Regions from separate parts of the Homo sapiens genome. Here region 1 is linked to region 2. Evidence: promoter capture Hi-C in 16 types of primary human blood cells and fetal thymus (Javierre and others, 2016). All regions are on one chromosome and are shown on one strand. The core of a region is centred on a gene start or on the middle of the fragment in contact, and the rest is flanking DNA. Distances in the headings are between cores, read along the strand shown.

Region 1 (3,347 bases), core at 695-3,194, 120 kb after region 2:
TCCTGAGCTGCCGAGGGGGAAATAACTACACACTGAGCTTCCGGTTGCTCTGTGCCTTGACCTCATTGACAATACTGCAGCTCTACCATTTCCTCCAGATCCCGACTCACGAAGAGCATTTATTTTATGTGCTGTCTTTTTGTAAAAGTGCATCCATTCCCCTAACTGTGGTTGCTTTCATTCCCTACTCTGTTCATATGTTAATGAAACAAAGCGGAAAGAAGAGTCAGTAGAGTGGTGCCTAGAGTTAGTGCTCTGTGTCACAGATCACCCTTCTCCATCCACCAGTAGAGCCACAGAGTAGGCACAGACCAGAGGCTTCTAATCCGACTTCACAGAATAGCGGCACAGGCCCCATTCCCCATAGAGATGTTTAGTTTGGCCTTCGCACTGGTCTTTTTTTTTAATCCTTCAGTTACCAATATTTAGATACAAGAATATTTGACATAAAAATCGGAAGTTCTGTATTTCTTGAAAAATCTGATAGTATGACAACACAGAGCCTGCATCCCCAGCTGGAGACAACTGACCAGAGCTGCATACTAACAGTCCCCAGTAGGAGGCAAGGACTCCATTTTCTCACAGTCTTCAGCATCCCAGCAGGAGCCCCACTATGATTCCTTTATCTTCTTAAGGCCAGGCTGCATCTGATTCCTGTTGACATTTTAGTGGGGACCACAGCCATATCCAGTTTCAGTTTTCAGATGAGGAAATGGAAGCCTATTTAGGTAAAAGAACTTGCCTGGAGTCACGCCACCTTCAGAGCAGGAATTAGAACCCAAGGCTTCTGACACATATCCCCATTACACTGTGTGTTTGAGTGTGCACACATGCACATGCTTTTTGTTTGTATGTTTCCTTTTTAGAACCAGGGACTTGCTCTGTTGCCCAGGCTGGAGTGCAGTGGTGGATAGCGGCTCACTGCAGCCTCAAACTCCTGGCTCAAATGATCCTCCCTCCTCAGCCTCCCATTAGCTAAGACTACAGGTGTGCACCACCATGCCTGGCTAATTTTTGAATATTTTTTAGAGCCAGCTTCTTACTATATTTGCCCAGGCTGGTCTTGAACTCCTGGCCTCAAGGAGTTCCCTTGAGGATGTTCCACCCATGTCAGCCTCCCACAGTGCTGGGATTGCAGGCTTGAGCCATTGTATTAATAGTTGGCCTACACTGTCTTTTGTTTCTTCATTTACAAGAGGTAAAAATCAGTAAGAATGAATGCTTTCATTTAGATTCTATGATGACTGCCATATAAATCAGCTACCTTTTCAGAAATGACATTGAAATACTGCATCCTCTTTGACTTATACCCCACACATACATGCAGGGTCTAGGTGGGACCAACAGTGGCTCCAGATGTATATACACACGGGTCCAGGGACAACAGAACAGGCCAGGCTACAGTATGGACTTGAACCTCTGCTTCACTTCTGGTCTCTGTTTTACAGTAGTGCTCACCAATATTTCAATAAATTCTACTGAACTTACTCTAATAGAACATTATTCAACCCCCAAAGACTTATCTCTTCACTATGACATCTCCATACTTTATTTTTAGGAGACAGACTTTCAAAACCAGAGAAATCAGGTGCCTTCCTCAAGGTCATGCTCCAACCCAGGCCAACTATTAAATGCTTGCATCTGTTAGCTGGATTAGTCTCTATGTATACTGAACTGTGATGAAAATCTATAGCTTTGTTTTAGAAAATTATTGTTGATGGACTATTAATATTATATTAACAATTTCTCAGTAAGTGTGTTTTTTCCTCATTGAATCTAGGAATGCTGGGCTTTAAGTTGATAACTGTGTCATTTCAATCAAGTACAAGGATTTTGAGGCAGATTTTGCTAGATATCTTAGTAATCCCCCACAATGTTTTATGTAACTCTTCTCAGAATATCAATACATTAATTATTTTAGATGACATATTAAATAATCTATGAATATTAATGAAAACAATACAGTTGAAGTGAGTGTTGTTTAACATGATAGTAGCTGAGGATAACAAACCTCAAAAAATCAAAGTATTAATTACTCCTTTCCAAGTATATGTATAGAGCATGTGTCATTGCTTTTATAAAACGCACTTAATAGCTTTCTTTCTAAAAGGCAACTGAACTTTCTAAAAGGTAAATAAACTGAACTTGATATTAGTGGTTCGGTGATTCCAAAGCAAAAAGCTGAGGGATTAAGAAAGAATAGCTTAAGAATGAAATTTGTCTCATGTTGCTGGGACATTTGGGATGAAAGAAGTAGAGAAGAATGATTCTTCAGGTGATGACCGTTGCTCATTGGTTCAGTCCCACCCTATGTCCCACCATGCTGTACCTTTAGATGCCTTCACATTTCATGATACATTTGTGTCATTACATCTTCCACACATCAGAGATCTCATTCCTGTCTAAAAGCCCTTTGCCAAATTTCACATAAGATAATGTTAGTCTTGAAGGATTCTGGTACATCCCCTTCATCCTAGTACAATCTCAGCCTGCTTTCAGCAAGGCCTGAGGAAACCGGCATTAATAGCCAGGGAATTCTGCAGCAATGATTGACTCTACCATAAATCCGTTCTCCGTTTCCATGGAGAAAGCTATCTTCAGCCACCCCATGGTGCTGTCTGTTGGGCAACACATTACCCTCAGAGGGGACTGGGATGAAGTGTGGGCTTGTTTTCTATAATTAATCCCCAAGAACTCTGCCCCTATCTTCCATAAAAACCCCAGAGTCCCCATGGGAGTAGATTTCCCTCTTTATTCTAGTTGAAGTCTCCTGGAGGGATCCATATGGTGGTAAATTGTTTTTGCAATTGAAACGCCTTAGGCAGCAAGAGGAATCGTTTTTCACAGCCTTGGAGAAAATGCCTGCCCTTAATAATGATGGAAAAGACTCTTCTGTTTCCAATTTATTTGTCAGAAGTAAGTGGAATTGAGCTCATTAAATACTGTTACTATAACCATATATTCAAAATGTCTACCTATCTACATATTCAGGAGAAAAATGTCAATACCATGAGCTTTTAGGATGAGAAAATCTAGACAAGAAAATCTGACTCAAGAGAAAATCTGACTCAAGAAACTGTCCAATCAAACCTACATTTGGAAAAAAAATACAAAATAATTTATTATTGCTGAAACTAGCTATCAGGAAGAATATTAGTTCCTTTCCTTTGACAACCTATTGATTGGACATCTGCCTAAGAAGGTTAAGTTGGTGCCTTCTTTAGACATATTTCATTATAAAACAGATGGTGATTAAAAGAATTGTTATAAGATGTCCTTGAAACTAAAAGTCAAATGTTGAAATGCTTTACATTTTTTCAAAATTTTTAAATAAATTCAAGATCAAA
Region 2 (3,346 bases), core at 377-2,876:
CCCCCAATAAATCAAATACATCAATAACTGAACTCAATTTTTCAAGTTCACTGTATCAGTCTAATTCACAAAGGGCACATCTCCTTCCTCAGTCTAACCCTGGGAACTTGCAAGGGCAAACATAACCCAGAACACAGGTTCAAAAAGAACCAGTACAAGCAATTCAGTCATTCAATACATTGCAGACTGAAGAATGGAAGCGATCTAGGTAGTAACGCTAGTTTTTTAGGGATCTGGGTTTTAAGAATGGGCTGAAAGACTCATAGGGAAAAAGTCCCAGGGGTGGGTAGTAGGTGAGGGATGAAATGCTACAAAGCGAGTTTATTTTCTGTAACTTGAGTTATAGGAAATAAAAGAGCAGTTCCCAGCCCTCCTCTTTTTGAGTCATAGCTGTTAATTTGATTCATCAGGACTGAACTCTTGGCTCTGGCCAAAGTTCCTGACCCAGAGTGCTAGTTACTGTCTGGCAAGCCATCAAGCAATCCTATGTTAGATTTCAGACTAATTGGAGCTATGTCACCAAAGATGAGTTCAAAAGGGTCCCTAGAGTTTTTAAGAGCAAAGAGTATTGTTTTTCTCTCAGCTGAGGGTACTAGATGGTACATAGAACTGAGCCCTGATGTACTACACTTCTAGTGCTGCCATTTCTTAGTTGTATCACTTAGAAGTCATTTCTGAGGAGTTATAAAATAGTTTGCACTATGCTAACCAGTAGTTTACACTATGCTACATGTACCAAATTGTTTACCCACAGAGCCAGAACACTAATGAAAGCAGTAAAATGCACATCAACATTAAGTCAATAAATGTATTGAGCACCAATCGTTCGAGACATTATGTTAGGCTTTGTGAGGAGTATGAGGAAGTCAGGGGCAAAGCTGCTGCATTGAAGGGGGTCTCAATACAGTTAGGGAGGTAGGCCACAGGCAGAAGTTATTAGCTCTAAAGATTTTTTTTTTTTTTTAAGACAGAGTCTCACTCTGTTGCCCAGGCTGGAGTGCAGTGGCACGGGATCTCAGCTCACTGCAACCTCTGCCTCCCAGGTTCAAGTGATTCTCGTGCCTCAGCCTCCTGAGTAGCTGGAATTACAGGTGCATGCCACCACACCCAGCTAATTTTTTTGTATTTTTAGTAGAGATGGGGTTTCACCATATTGGCCAGGCTGGTCTTGAACTCCTGGCCTCAAGTGATCCACCTGCCTCGGCCTCCCAAAGTGCTAGGATTACAGGCATAAGCCACTGCACACGGCCAGCAAAAGGCTTTTAAAAATAAAAATAAAATCTATAGATATAAGACATTGGTATCATCGTTATATCAAATATGTTGTGAGAATAGTAATTGCCAGAAAAGTTCAGAGGAGAGAGAGGTTGTGTTATAGTAGTCAGGCAGACATCAGCAGGCCAGGAGAGGGCTGCACGCCCAACCAGGAATGTCAGACGACCATCAAGTGATGGTCAGGTGGTTGTTACACTGTTACAATCATTATTTCTCTAAAACAATAATTAGTCACAGCCAGCACGAGGGAAAGGCAATCTCCCGACAGACAGAAAAAACCTGAAACTGGTTATCAGCAGCGTCCCAATAAGATCTCAGGTGTTAGGTAAGTGGGCTCAAGCATGCGCACTATGAGGCAAAATGGGGGAGTTTAACTGGTATATGACCTTCCTCTAGGAACGTTAGATTGGTAATAGAAGAACGTCTCAAGTGAGCATGCGTATAACTCCCGTAAACACACTGCGCATGCAGCCCTTCCCAAGCACTGGTAGGGCACTGGGCATGCAGACAGCCCACCAGAAGGGAAGAATCAGGAGAAAAGGGATGCAAGATCCCAGAGGTATGCCAATATATAAAACCCTAAGGCAAAGGTCAAGCCAGCCACTTGATCCCTCAAGTGGCCAGCTTGGCCCTCCTCGAAGTGTACTTTACTTCCTTTCGTTCCTGCCCTAAAACCTTTTAGTAAACTTTCACTCTTGCTCTAAAACTTGCCTCAGTCTCTCAGTCTGCCTTATTTTTCCTCGGTCAAATTCTTCCCTGCCTCCCCCCTCCTCCAGAGTAGCTGGGACTACAGGCGCCCGCCATCACACCTGGCTAATTTTTTGTATTTTTAGTAGAGACGGGGTTTCACCATGTTGTTCAGGCTGGTCTCGAATGCCTGACCTCAAGTGATCCACCTGCCTCAACCTTCCAAAGTTCTGGGATTACAGGCGTGAGCCACCACACCCGGCCCCAAATTCTTTCTTCTAAGGAGCTAAGAATTGAGTTCGCTGCGGACCCATAAGGATTCGCTGCTCGTAACAGCTGCTTCTGGGATCAGGTAAGAAAAGGTTTCAAGCAGAAAGCTAGGAAGAATGAATAGTATTTGAATGAGTCAAGTGGAAAGAGGAAAGGCATTTGAGACAAAGGGCATAGCGTGAAGCAGTGAGGCAGCCTCCACCCCACTTCCTACCACCTGTTCTCCCCCTTAGTGGCCTGACCTTGACCTTCCACTCCATCCTCATCCCTCCCCATGGGCACTGTCTCAGAATGTGCCATGCCTGTGACAGCTCCAGGACTCTGGCCATACTGCTTACACTGCCACAGAGACCTCTTTCCTCTTCTTCTTCATGTCGCTAACTCTTACTTGGCCTTGAAGACTAATTTGTGTTAGAAGTTAGTCTTCCCAGAAAGCCTTAGCCTTTGGGAATTTGGTGCTCTTCCTTGAGAAGAAAAGGTACAACCATTTAACTCCATCAGAACACTTATCACACGGCCTTCCCCACTGGACTCAATGGAAGCATCTTGAGGGCAAAGGCCTTACCTTTTATAGCTGATCCTTATCAGCCACAGTGTCCACTACACAGCAGGTGCCCAATAAATTCCTGTAGAATGAATATGCATTTACAGAAAGAGGAGCTGTGAGAAGATGCCTCAGTTTTTGGAAAGGAAAAATGGGTTGATTTTTACATTTTGAATTTAAGCTGATGAGAGTCCTTTCATGTGGACATGTCTAACAAAAATTGGAAGTAGAAGACTGAAACTGGAGGCTGTTGTGATTTTCATTTTTTTTAATTTTTTTCAGATAAACTGAAGCACAAGAGGGTAAAAACTTTGTCCTTGGTCTTACAGCCAGAAAGTGGTGATGCAAAGAACTTAGTCCAAGCTTTGATCTGTTCTGCACTGCCTGCCAAAGCAGAACCTTGAGAAATACCCATGTTTGGGGGATGAGAAGAAGAAGATAAATCAGCAAAGAAAATAGTGATAAGAAAGGTAAGTGATAAGAAAAAAAAAATGATGTAAATAGTAACGATGACAGCCAGGCTTGGTGGTTTATACCTGTAATTCAAGCACATTGGGAGGCCAAGGCAGG

What was found. Contacts are between HindIII fragments. The CHiCAGO score rates a contact against its expected background, and 5 or more counts as called.
Region 1: a fragment that was not itself captured here is called in contact with the fragment with the promoter of CERS6-AS1 in region 2 in 1 of 17 cell types (endothelial precursors); the score reaches 5.6 in endothelial precursors.

What each region holds. Positions count from the first base shown.
Region 1 is chr2:168,907,847-168,911,193 of GRCh38, forward strand. G6PC2 (glucose-6-phosphatase catalytic subunit 2) reads left to right here. Exons shown (of 5, transcript NM_021176.3): 5 at 1-2,154. The coding sequence ends at 233. Among named protein-coding and RNA genes, the nearest start is that of G6PC2, 8.2 kb to the left of the region's middle. RefSeq lists an enhancer at 97-892. The HindIII fragment of the contact is 5,946 bases long and covers 1-3,347 here.
Region 2 is chr2:168,784,803-168,788,148 of GRCh38, forward strand. CERS6-AS1 (CERS6 antisense RNA 1) reads right to left here and starts at 1,627. Exons shown (of 3, transcript NR_045787.1): 1 at 1,555-1,627. It also overlaps a transcript of NOSTRIN not described here. The HindIII fragment of the contact is 3,155 bases long and covers 1-3,137 here.